4 separate regions of the Homo sapiens genome follow, and regions 1, 3 and 4 are each linked to region 2. Evidence: promoter capture Hi-C in 16 types of primary human blood cells and fetal thymus (Javierre and others, 2016). All regions are on one chromosome and are shown on one strand. Each heading gives the region's core, a stretch centred on a gene start or on the middle of the fragment in contact. The rest is flanking DNA. Distances are from core to core; before and after follow the strand shown. Region 1 holds the start of ADH5 (alcohol dehydrogenase 5 (class III), chi polypeptide). Region 2 holds the start of SMARCAD1 (SNF2 related chromatin remodeling ATPase with DExD box 1). Region 3 holds the start of MIR3684 (microRNA 3684). Region 4 holds the start of STPG2 (sperm tail PG-rich repeat containing 2).

Region 1 (2,796 bases), core at 139-2,638, 4.9 Mb before region 2:
GAGAAGTTGTGACTCTCATGTTTCTGGCTAGGGTAAGTATGTGGAGAGTGTCAACACACAGAGGAAAGAGTCCCTATAAGGAGAAAATATTAATAGGAGTTTTAGGAGTTGCATTCGATTGTGAGATATCCTAATGGAGACAGAAATCCAGTAGGCAGTTACATGTCCAAGTCTGGAGTTTAGGGGAGCCATCCTGATTGGAGATAATAATCTGGTAGTCATCTTTCCATAAATAGACGTTAAAAGCCAAAGTGTGAGTGAGAGAGTGGAGTGAAAGGACGGAAAGACTTTGGACAATCTTACCATATGTACCCGGAAAAGAGCCAAGAAAAAGACTGAAAGACAGAAAAGAGCAGTGTGTCTGACAGAGCTATTTTAACAAAATTCAGCGTTTACAACAGAGTTTAAGAGTAAACTGGCAGGCCAGGTGCGGTGGCTCATGCCCGTAATCCCAGCACTTTGGGAGGCTGAGGTGGGTGAATCACTTGAGGTTAGGAGTTCAAGACCAGACTGGCATACATGGTGAGACCAACCCCCTGCCCCCACTCCCAATCTCTACTAAAAATACAAAATTGAGCCAGCGTGGTGGCGTGTGCCTGTGATCCCAACTACTCAGGAGGCTGAGGCACGAGAATCACTTGAACCTAGGAGGCGGAGGTTGCAGTGACCCGAGATCGCGCCACTGCACTCCAGCCTGGGCGACAGTGCGAGACTCCGTCTCAAACAAACAAAGAAAGAGTAAACCGACAAATACTACATTCTCTCTCTCTACACTCTGGCCCACTCTTAACACAAAAAACTGTCCAGGATCAGGAGACTTTTTGTTCTCCTCATCTCCTCCTTCCAAAGTTCTCTGCCCACGTTCTACTGTCTCCCCAAAATCCTACCTACCCTTCAGGAACTGCTGGAATGGGAGCTTGGGAAGTTTCAGCAAACTCCTCTCTCCTCCTTTGTGGCCCCTTTATTCCCAAAGCTGTGTCCTCTCCCTATGACGAGTCCCTTGAGGGGCTGTATCTTACTCCTTGTGTCTCCAAGCACACATAATGTGTATTAGGGGAGGAAGCATTCGCCAGTGGAGCACAAAGCTGTTGCAGGTCTCTTACTGGTTCTCAGGCGCTTTCAGTGAAATTCCCGTTCCCTCACCGTCCACATCTGTAATTTGCAAGTCTTATCTACGATAACTGCTGTAAAGTTACACGGGGAAGCCCTTTCCCGACAAAAAAAACGAGTTCTGCAACAAGTCCGTCGGATTTTAGCAATGAAACCGGCGCCGTGCAGCCTCGCCGGCGAGTGCACCCTGGAACGCACAACTTAGCGGCACGCACCACAGCTCGAGCACCGCCCTTCCGGTTGGAGCCATTGCAAGCCCCCCCCACGCCCCGCCCCCCTCGCTAGGCGCTCGCCACGCCCATGCCTCCGTCGCTGCGCGGCCCACCCCGGATGTCAGCCCCCCGCGCCGACCAGAATCCGTGAACATGGCGAACGAGGTAGGGCCCGTTGAGCGGAGGGCCCTGAGTCCAAGGGAGGGAGTGCATGGCATGGGACTAGGCTGCTATCCTCGGGGGCGCGCGAGGCTCGGCGCCCAAGACGGGATCTGGCTCTTGGTTCTGAAACTGGGCCCCCAGCGAGCGGCTCAGAGGGGCAGAAAGAGAAGGAAGCTTTGTCTCGGCTCTTCAGTTGGGAAGCAGCTTTCTTTGCTGCTTCTGGGACAGTCGGAACGGGGTGGGGGGGTGGGAGAGCCGGAGAGTGGGGGGCAGGGGCTGGTCAGGTCGGTATCCCAGTGGAAATGGCTTAGGAGCGGCCACGCATTGCTTCTTACACGAAATTAAGTAACTCGCTCTGGGTCATTCTTGCAGCTTGCATACTTGGCAGAGCTGCAGCCAGATCCCGTGCTTCTAACTCCTAGGTTGCTTGTGTTGCATAATTGAGCCTACGCCTTAATTATTGTGCCTCCAAGGAGTGTATTTTGGAAAGACCCCTACGTCCCTTTCAGAAACATTTTCGAGCACTTAAATACCAAGAGATTTATATTCCCTCTAGTCCTCACGTAACAAACACCTCTGCGAGGTGTTATCCCCATCTTACCAAAAACTGAGGTTTGAGGTTGGTTGTGCTTGGTCACACCAACGATGGCGAGCTGGGATTCCGACCCAGGTCTGCTCCTCTATGACAAATTCATAAAATACAAATTAGACAGTAAAGAAAGGCAGAAATTACGAATAACATACTCAGTCTAAAGTTGCTGATTATTTTAATGTTTTGCAATTTTGGACATTTTCTAGTAAGACAAATGGCCTTAAACATATTGGAGTTTGAAAGAAATAAACTCTAAACAGTCTTTCAGACTTAAACTGGTAGTTGCTTTTCCTTATTACTGAGTGTCTTTATTCAGAGAAGGTGAAAGATTATAATTGTTACTATAGTTCAAATGTTGAAGTAGGGCCATTTCCCGCGGATTTAGAGTGGGGCTTTGTTTTGCTTAGAATTGTCAGTAAAAGGAAAAGGTTAGGCTCCATTAAGACATTTTTTAAAGGGGAGCAGGCCATCAAATTTAGTATTCTTGTTTCTTTGGATTCCTATGTTGCATAACTTAATTGTTAGTATTCTGAATCTGACTTGTGGAGTTGAAATTTATGGCACATTGAAATGAAAAAGGTTCTAATGCAGTGTCTGATTCTTTGTACTATGAGATTTAATATCTGCAATTTAATTTTAAAAACGATCATTTCCACATTTCCAACCTCACCAATTTACAGAGGCCATTTCCCTCCCCCCCCCCTCCCCCGCCAGTTCAGA
Region 2 (2,983 bases), core at 252-2,751:
GTTCCTAATAACCTCTCTGAATCTCATTTCACATTAACCTCTATGTCAGTAATATCTACCTTGTAGGATTATTGTGCAAATTAAATGACAGAAGGTGAAGCACTTATCACTATTCCTATAATACAACAAGAGCTCAAATATATTCCTCTAATAGTTAACTGTTCAATGAACATAGATTCGAGTGGAAATCTTAATTTTTGGCTTATCCTCAAATACTTTTGTCTCTGACAATCTGCTGATGAGGTTAAAAATGTTCATTCACCATGAAGAATACCAATTACTCATTTGCATTCTGAGGACATCCAGGAAGTCAGGTGGATGCAAGAACTTGATGTGATCTGATCTTCCCTTGTGTACAGAGGTTGTCTTTAGGCACCTTGCTCAATGTCTAGCTCACAGTAGATGATCAATATTTTGAGGGAATACTGGAATGAATGAAAATGTCTGCCCAAATAGCCTCAAAGTTTATCATAGGACTGAATCACTGACATCGCTCTTCCAATAGCAACCGTTCTGACCTATGGATGCCCTAAATTCTAATTTCAACTTCCACCATGGGGCCATATTCGAAGAACTCATATAAAAGTGAGGCGACAATGGATGGATGCTCAGTTGAGGGTACATGGTGCTTATGGCAGTCCCAAAGCTGTATTTAAAAGGGCACACCGCAGGACAATGCATCAATATATATGACATCAAGAATAAAAATGAGAATCCCTTCTGCCTTTCATCTTTTAAAAACTGTCCTTGATGTTACATCAATTTTAACATTGTAACTCACCTGTTTTTTCAGTTATATCTGAATCAGGAGTGTTTGCCCTGCTAACTTCCCCTTCAGCATTCTCCTCTTCAGCACTAAGAGAAATTGGTGAAGAAGGGCCAGGCTGGGAAGGTTGAGGGGTTGCTTCGGGCGCTTCCTCAATCTTATTCCTTTTCTCAAAGCGAAAACGGTCCAGGTTGAAAAGATTCATATTGGTAGAAAGCACCACCTTGCAGGGATGGGGGCTTTAAATGAACTATCTGCAGGGGAAAAATAAAGAGAGGAAAAAAGGCCATGAAAACAATATACGATACAATGCCACAGCAGTTTATTCCCAAGGCAATAAAGGGCCCGCAAACATGCCAGTGGCTCAGGACTGTTATGGCTGCGCTTCATTGTTAGGCCGCAACAATTAGAAGGTGGACGGGGGTATCTTTTAAAATTTTCCATTGCTTTTCACTCCCCTTCGTCCGCCTCCCCCGCCCGCCCCTCCTTACTGAAACCACGAGCTGACCCTCATGCAACCTCCTCTTACCCAAGCACGCGCAGGCACGTTCCCCAGTATAACCCCCTAGCGGGCCTCGCGCCCGCCCACAAAGAGAAGCTCCCTGTGCTACCGTGCCCCCTGCCTCGAGAAAGGACCTGCCAGGGCCCGCGCCTCGACACTGCGGGGACACAAAGGGGCCAAAGAAGGGGAGCGGCGGAGGCCGTGCTGGCGGGCATCCGCCCGGAAGTTGACGCGGCGCGATCCCAGCTGAGAGGAAGCTGATAGGATTAAGAACACACAGGAAGGTTCAGAGGTGGAGTGCATGCTAAGGCATCTTTTTAACGTTCAATCGCTCGCTTGTTCTTTCTTCCCTCAGTACTTACGATCTTGTAGCCTCAGTGCTATGTAACAAAGGTTGAAAATAAAAAAAAAATTTCCTAGCGTGGGGCGACGGTAGCCGTGCCGGGACCTTCCAAAACACCACGGAGAAACCTTAAGAGCGCGTAATGATGACGCAACACGCAGCCTAGGCTTTTTCTTCCCAAACAACGCGCGAGCCGACAATGTCGAGGCGCGCGCTGTTGTCATGGTAATTCGTACCCGTCTCCGCCGGCTTGTAAGGGCCAGATTGTTCTGTACCTTTGTCCTGTTAAATTATCTAGAGAGTTATTAAATAGAACAATAGTAAATAGCATAATGACAAAAAATAACAATATATAATACAATTAGTATATATTGTATGTATTATAATCTGTAGTGTTTCACCTATAATATAATGTAGATAGCATAATAGTAATAATACTGTGCTAAGCTTTTTCAGTGTATAATCCCAATCCTTACAAGAAGCCTATGTTTACAAAGCAAAGAAACTGAGACCTGCAAATGTATAGGTAATTAGTGACGGATAAGAACCCCGGGATGCTGAGCTTCAAAGCATTTAAAGTAATTCCTCACTTTCGGCTTGATTGTTCTTAGAATGGAATTTGATTAATTAATTAATTTTTTAAAAATATTTTAATTTTTAATGTTTGCGGGTACATAGTAGGTGTACATATTTATAGGGTACATGAGATATTTTGATACAGGCATGCAATGTGTAATAATCATATCAGGGTAAGTGGGGTATCCATAACAAGCATTTATCCTTTGTGTTTCAAACAATCCAGTTATTTTAGTCATTTAAAAATGTACAATAAGCTGGGAGTGGTGGCTCACGCCTGTAATCCCAGCACTTTGGGGGGCTGAGGCAGGTGAATCACAAGGTCAGGAGTTTGAGACCAGCCTAGCCAACATGGTGAAACTCCGTCTCTGCTAAATATACAAAAAATTAGCCGGGCGTAGTGGCGGGCGCCTGTAATCTCAGCTAATCGGGAGGCTGAGGCAGGAGAATAGCTTGAACCTGGGATGCGGAGGTTGCAGTTAGCCGAGATCACTCCACTGCACTCCACCCTGGGCAACAAAGCAAGACTCTTGTCTCAAAAAAAAAAGTACAATAAATTGTTGTTGACTGTAGTCATGCTATTGTGCTATCAAATACTAGATCTTATTCATTCAAACTGTATTTTCGTACCCATTAACCATGCTCACCGACCACCGGGGTCCTCCCCCGCCCCACACTACCCTTCCCAGCCTCTGGTAGCCATCGTTCTACCGTTTCTCATACGTTCAATTGTTTTAATTTTTTAGCTCCCACAAATATAATAAATGAGAACATACCAAGTTTTTTTTCTGTGCCT
Region 3 (2,726 bases), core at 29-2,528, 4.8 Mb before region 2:
GTCTCTACTAAAAATACAAAAAAATTAGCCAGGCGTGGTGGTGCGCACCTGTAATCTCAGCTACTGGGGAGGCTGAAGCAGCAGAATCGCTTGAACCCGGGAGGCAGAGGTTGCAGTGAGCCGAGATCACACCACTGCACTCCAGCCTGGGTGACAGAGCAAGACTCGGTCTCAAAAAAAAAAAAAAAAAAAATTAAGCATCCTAGATAAAATATTTCTACTTTCCTAAACATAAAACAGTATAACAATAAAAAGAGCTAACATTCATTAAGTTTACTAATATGCTAAGAGCTTTACATACTTTGGATTTAGTCTTCATCAAAACCCTGAGATAGGTATTATTAATAGCCCCATTTTAAAAAGATACAGCTGAAAAAGAGAGGTTATTTGCCCAAGTCACATAACTAGTAAATGATGGAGCTGTGATTCAAACACAGCAGTATACCTCTCTATTTTGATGCATTTATCCATTAATTCAAACATTTAATGGCCACCTACTGCATACAGAGCATCATACTGGGAAATGAGAACAGGGCAGTGAACAAGATAGGATCATTCATGAAGTTCACCTTCCGACTAAAAAACAGACATTCTCGGCCGGGCATGGTGGCTCACGCCTGTAATCCCAGCACTTTGGGAGGCCAAGGAGGGTGGATCACCTGAGGTCAGCAGTTCGAGACCAGCCTCAACATGGAGAAACCCCATCTCTGCTAAAAATACAAAATTAGCTGAGCGTGGTGGTGCATGCCTGTAATTCCATCTACTTGCGAGGCTGAGGCAGGAGAACTGCTTGAACCTGGGAGGCGGAGGTTGCGGTGAGTCGAGATCGCACCATTGCACTCCAGCCTGGGCAACAAAAGCGAAACTCCGTCTCAAAAAAAAAAAAAATCCTCATTTTTCTAACAGGTGAGGTAATCATAGATTGCACAAAAGGTCATAAAGGAATAAACAAGGTGGTGTGACAGAGTAACTGGGAATGCCTTACTTCTGTTAATGGTGTGATAGAAAGGCCTCTTGCAGTTTTGTTCTGTTTGTTCCCAAAGACAAGCTGGCCAGACAGCCAGGCCAGGGACCAGAGCAGTAGAAAGAAAGACCTCCTAGTGATCACAGAAGTGTTAAGGAAAATCCCTAATTTCTTCTTTTTGGTTTTTTGTTTTGTTTTGTTTTTGTTTTTTTCTTGAGACGGAGTCTTGCTCTGTTGCCCAGGATAGAGTGCAGTGGTGCAACCTCGGCTCACTGCAACCTCCACCACCCAGGTTCAAGTGATTCTTGTGTCTCAGCCTCCTGAGTAGCTGGGACTACAGGCGTGTGCCACCACGCCCAGCTAATTTTTGTATTTTTAGTAGAGACAGGGTTTTGACATGTTGCCCAGTCTGGTCTCAAACTCCTGACCTCAGGTGATCCACCCGCCTAGGCCTCCCAAAGTGCTGAGATTACAGGTGTGAGCCACCATGCCCAGCCAAGCCCATATTTCATCACAGATGTATAAAGCGCTTAGAATAAGTTACAGTGACTTGATCAAGGTCTCAAGCTGGGATTGGGGGAACAGCTGTGATTTCAGAAGACAGGTGACACTTCGGAAAGGAAAGAATGTAAACATAGCCTTTGGCTAGAGCAAGAGGCTCAGAAGAGGGGCCCTGAATGTGGGGCTGGAATCCTGAAAGCAATGAGGGATACGCATAATCAGACTGCGGGAAAAATAACTTCTGTACAAAAGGTTTTGTTTGATAGGGTTTTTTGTGGGCGTTTGTTTGCAAGGGGAGGAATTACAGTAGAGAAATAAATTAAGAGAGTATGACAACTGATTTGGTGGGAAATTTTAAAAGCTGACCATAGGAGGTGGTAACAGAAATGAAGAAAAAGAGACAGTTGGGACAGCCACTCTGGGAATATTTGAGTGCATGTCTAACAGTGATACCAGAAATATACCTGCAGAATCCAACATGTAAATACCTCCAATCCTAACACACGGAATAAACCCTAGATGTTTTGTTTTCACAAATTTGTCTAGCATTTTTCCACAAACCCCAGTGATTCACCTTCTTTCTACCTGTTTCATGAATGTGGTTTCACACTACCTTTTTAAAATCTTAACAGAAGATTGTAATACATATTAATTCAAAATGCCACCTACTTTTAAAGTTATTCTACTCAGATGGTACAACTGTCAAAAGCAAACACTGTTTCTTAATTTCAGGTCCCACACAGGCCACAACAAGATAGAATTTGGGAATTTTAAAGAATCTAAAGGACGTGTACTAGGTCTAACATGAGTAATGCTCAACATGTTAAACCTAGTACAGGTCCTTTAGATTGTTCGGTAATGCTATTTTTAGATCAAGCAACACTCCTCCACGTGCAAGTTTTTCCAAATTATACTAACAAGGTCAAGGATCATATCCTATCTAAAAACAAGACTGTATAACACAGCTAAGACCTTTTGCAATCGCTTATCTACAAATATTGTGACGTAAAGATTGTATTTATTTATATCTTTACGTTTTTATGTTTTATGTTGGAAAACACTTTTATTATTTGTATTGTGTTCATATATCTGCCTTCATTCTTATTCATATTTTTATTTATGGCAGAGTTAAATCGTACTAGAATCCTTTAAAAAATAAAGGACTTTACATTATAACAGCATTTCACGTTCCTTGGATAATCTGGGTCTCAGAAGAAGCTTGTGAAACTTACAAAGAAAGCTATAATCATCCCCTCTGTAC
Region 4 (2,984 bases), core at 440-2,939, 3.9 Mb before region 2:
TGTATATTCAAGCAAAGAGTAATGTAGACTACTGCAGACAGAATGGCCAGACAGGGCTTGAAATTCTGCATCAATGCTTACGGCAACCATGGCCTAGACCTGAGTATGCAGTTTGGGTTGATATCCTTGTTTGGATCATCAAGGTCAAATGATGTCCTTAAGGACATAGCGGGCAAATTTACAAGCACCACTGGATTATCATACACAGCACATGAATTTTTCTCTTTCATCTCTGTGACTCTTTCTAATATGTCATAGTAAATATCTAGATCTTCTGAATGGGTATAGGTGGCAGCTTGGAAAATAAGGTTAAAACAACATTGAGAGAATTATGAGGGTTTCTGACAGAATGCAGGGAGAATCGAAGTTGGTGAGATGTTTCCAAAATATTGCAATATTCATTTTCCTACCATTAAAAAAAATCTTTGCCACCTCTCGTTTTGGATTATACGTCTCTTTCCCCATTAGAGAGAGAACACCTGAGGGCAGGGACTTTCTTATGCCTTTGTATCCTCATAACTTAGCAGGGATGGAACCTACAGTATATGCCAATTCGTGTTTTTTAAGTGCATAAATAATTTAGCTAGCTATTGAACAGAAAAAAAGGTACTACAGATACATCCTTGAGAAGCATATAGCCTCGCAAGGAGAGGGTTCCGACCTATATGGCACAATGAAGCCACAGTAAATGTTGCACAGGATTGAGTGGCAAATCGTGTATTACAGAGTATGAAAACTATAAAAACTTGTAGTAGGAACAAATTAACGTACTGTAGACCATTTGGAGGTGAGGTATGATCAAGGTAGGATTTGTCTAAGCCTCTGAGGATATTTATAATCTGGACAGAATTCTTGCTAGAAAAAACAGCCTGCGAGATGCAGAGGTGGATTCTGACATAGATTCCTTAAGCCCCAAGGACAAGCAAGGTTTCTTTTGCCCAAGGTTCAGAATCATTGGTTTGGTGGGGTGGACTGGGCTTTTTCAGTGCCTTCGCTTTGCTTTTTAAATATTGATGAATCAGTATTGTGGTTACCTGGCATACGACAAAAGAGGCAGCTTTCAGTCACTTCCACGGCTTCAGTTGGTGAGCTTTTCGCCTCCTTGCCTGGTGTCCTCATTTCTTTTTTTTTTTTTTTCTTTTTTACCCTTATCTTATTTGTTATTTTTTTTTCTGGGTTCTCCATTTCTTGTCACTGCCCTGAGCCCTGGGTTTGTCTTAGCAGTTTGGACTATCTACAGGTTAAGATCAGAGGTGCCTTTTCTCTGTGAGTACGAGTGGGGCTGCAGTAGAAGCGGGGGAGAGCTTGCGGAACCCCAAGCTCTCTGCTTCATGCTACTGCATTTTTCTTTACTAGGTTCTGTTGAGTCGGGAAGCAGATCAAGGTCAAGTTAGTCCTCACCCTTCCTAACGCGTTTTCTAAGGTTCTTCTGCATACTTAAAAAAGTTCGGGACCTAAGTAGTTACCGGGACCCCAAGAGCTACGAGGTTTAGGCCTGCCTTCTTCAAGGCGCGCCGGGTTCCGGGTAAAAAGAGCCGGGAAAGGGTGGCTGCTCGGTGCGCATGCTCCGAGGGCTCGGCCCAGGAAGGCACCTCCACTTCGCTCCCTAGAGACTGGGCCCGCCTCCTCCCCAGAGACTGGGCCCGCCTCCTCCCCAGGCTTCCGGGCGGAGAGAAGTGGGCGGAGTCAGGGCCGGAAGCACCGGGGCGAGCGTCTAATCCCTAATACCCAATTTTGGTGGCGTGCACCTGGCAAACTGATGATTGTGTGGGACGTCTAATCTCTAGTCGCTCACCCCTCTACTTTACCACAGAGCTAGAAATCGATTTGAGGAAATCTGGTATCAATGAGCGGGCGGGGAGACAACCCCACCCCTAATTTCCCTGTTTACGGAAGTTCTTTCCCGGCCTCCTCAGACTGGTGTCGGCTTCCTTTTTCTCCACACTTCTAGCTACCTTGTTTTTATCGTTTTCGGCACCTGCCCTTCCCCAGCGCCCCCACCACCCCGAGCACTATGTATGATCGGGCTCCCCGCCTGCTCAAATTGGCTGAAGGTGGCAGCACTGAGGCCCATGTGGGTCCTGGATCCTACCAGGTACCTTTCCTGAAGCAGCAGGCGACAGGTAAGATGTAGGAAGAGGCAGAGCTCCTGTGACAGGCATCCTATCTTCAGCCTGCTCCGCTTCTGCGTGCTTGTGAGTTAAACATAGAGCGGAATAGTACCATTTTGTAAACATAACAAAACATGAAGTAGGCAGGGAAAACACTATACTTTTATTTTACAGATGAGACTGATAGTATCACTTGTCCCATTTCAAAAGGCTGGTGAGCATATGGCTAGGACTTTTGATTCCGCAATAGTTGTCTACATCCTACTTTTGATTGTGCAGTTTAGGTCTAGGATTTTGATTTCCTGGCTGTGTTGACATAATATATGAGTCTCCAAATCCTGTGCCCTTACCTCCCGCTGTCTCGTTGCTTTGTAATCCTGCCTGCCTCACATCTTTCCTCCCATTAACCAGAGACATTTATTTATTAAGATGTAGCTTATATTTCTATTTTGCAGTATTATTTAAAGATAGTTCCGTTTTTTTTTCAGACAGATTTTTCTGACCGTCCTCATCTCTTTTAACACACTTCAGGGGAGCCCCTTTTCTCCACATTCTGTAAAGAAAAATTATATTTTTGACCAGTGGAGTGGGGATGGATAATTTAAATAATATTTGCTCTCCTCGTTTGTTTGCAGTTAGTGACTTAGTCAAAAATAAATACATCAATTTTGCTTTCTACTTTTTCTATTCTGGTGATTTTCTGGAGCTTAATACCGTCCAAATGATAGTTTTTCTTAACCTACATTTTCCCCATACCTACACTATGTATTTTCAAGCAAATGCCAGGATCCATTATTCTGTTACATAACTGATCAGATAAGGGAAGGTTTAGGTTTCTTGGGGTGGAGTACAAATTTGACTTCTGTCAGTGTT

What was found. The method cuts DNA at HindIII sites, captures the fragments that hold promoters and counts their contacts. A CHiCAGO score of 5 or more calls a contact.
Region 1: a contact is called between the fragment with the promoter of ADH5 here and the fragment with the promoter of SMARCAD1 in region 2, in 6 of 17 cell types (fetal thymus, non-activated CD4 T cells, total CD8 T cells and 3 more). The highest score is 16.5, in fetal thymus.
Region 3: a fragment that was not itself captured here is called in contact with the fragment with the promoter of SMARCAD1 in region 2 in 1 of 17 cell types (naive CD8 T cells); the score reaches 9.0 in naive CD8 T cells.
Region 4: the fragment with the promoter of STPG2 here is called in contact with the fragment with the promoter of SMARCAD1 in region 2 in 3 of 17 cell types (fetal thymus, activated CD4 T cells and total CD4 T cells); the score reaches 8.8 in fetal thymus.

What each region holds. Positions count from the first base shown.
Region 1 is chr4:99,087,380-99,090,175 of GRCh38, reverse strand. It overlaps ADH5 (alcohol dehydrogenase 5 (class III), chi polypeptide), which reads left to right and starts at 1,388. Exons shown (of 9, transcript NM_000671.4): 1 at 1,388-1,487. The coding sequence starts at 1,476. LOC100507053 (a long non-coding RNA gene) reads right to left here and starts at 1,319. Exons shown (of 10, transcript NR_037884.1): 1 at 892-1,319. RefSeq lists a silencer at 1,356-1,405 and a promoter at 190-1,443. The HindIII fragment of the contact is 7,789 bases long and covers 1-1,660 here.
Region 2 is chr4:94,206,383-94,209,365 of GRCh38, reverse strand. It overlaps SMARCAD1 (SNF2 related chromatin remodeling ATPase with DExD box 1), which reads right to left and starts at 1,501. Exons shown (of 24, transcript NM_020159.5): 1 at 1,296-1,501; 2 at 782-1,020. The coding sequence starts at 971. It overlaps SMARCAD1-DT (SMARCAD1 divergent transcript), which reads left to right and starts at 1,810. Exons shown (of 9, transcript NR_125922.1): 1 at 1,810-1,836. RefSeq lists enhancers at 921-1,424, 1,523-1,882. The HindIII fragment of the contact is 2,630 bases long and covers 1-2,060 here.
Region 3 is chr4:98,996,976-98,999,701 of GRCh38, reverse strand. The region is part of intron 1 of METAP1 (methionyl aminopeptidase 1); the gene reads right to left. It overlaps MIR3684 (microRNA 3684), which reads right to left and starts at 2,315; the gene lies at 2,242-2,315. The HindIII fragment of the contact is 2,815 bases long and covers 1-2,685 here.
Region 4 is chr4:98,142,181-98,145,164 of GRCh38, reverse strand. It overlaps STPG2 (sperm tail PG-rich repeat containing 2), which reads left to right and starts at 1,689. Exons shown (of 11, transcript NM_174952.3): 1 at 1,689-2,123. The coding sequence starts at 2,015. RefSeq lists an enhancer at 1,863-1,962. The HindIII fragment of the contact is 14,460 bases long and covers 1-2,984 here.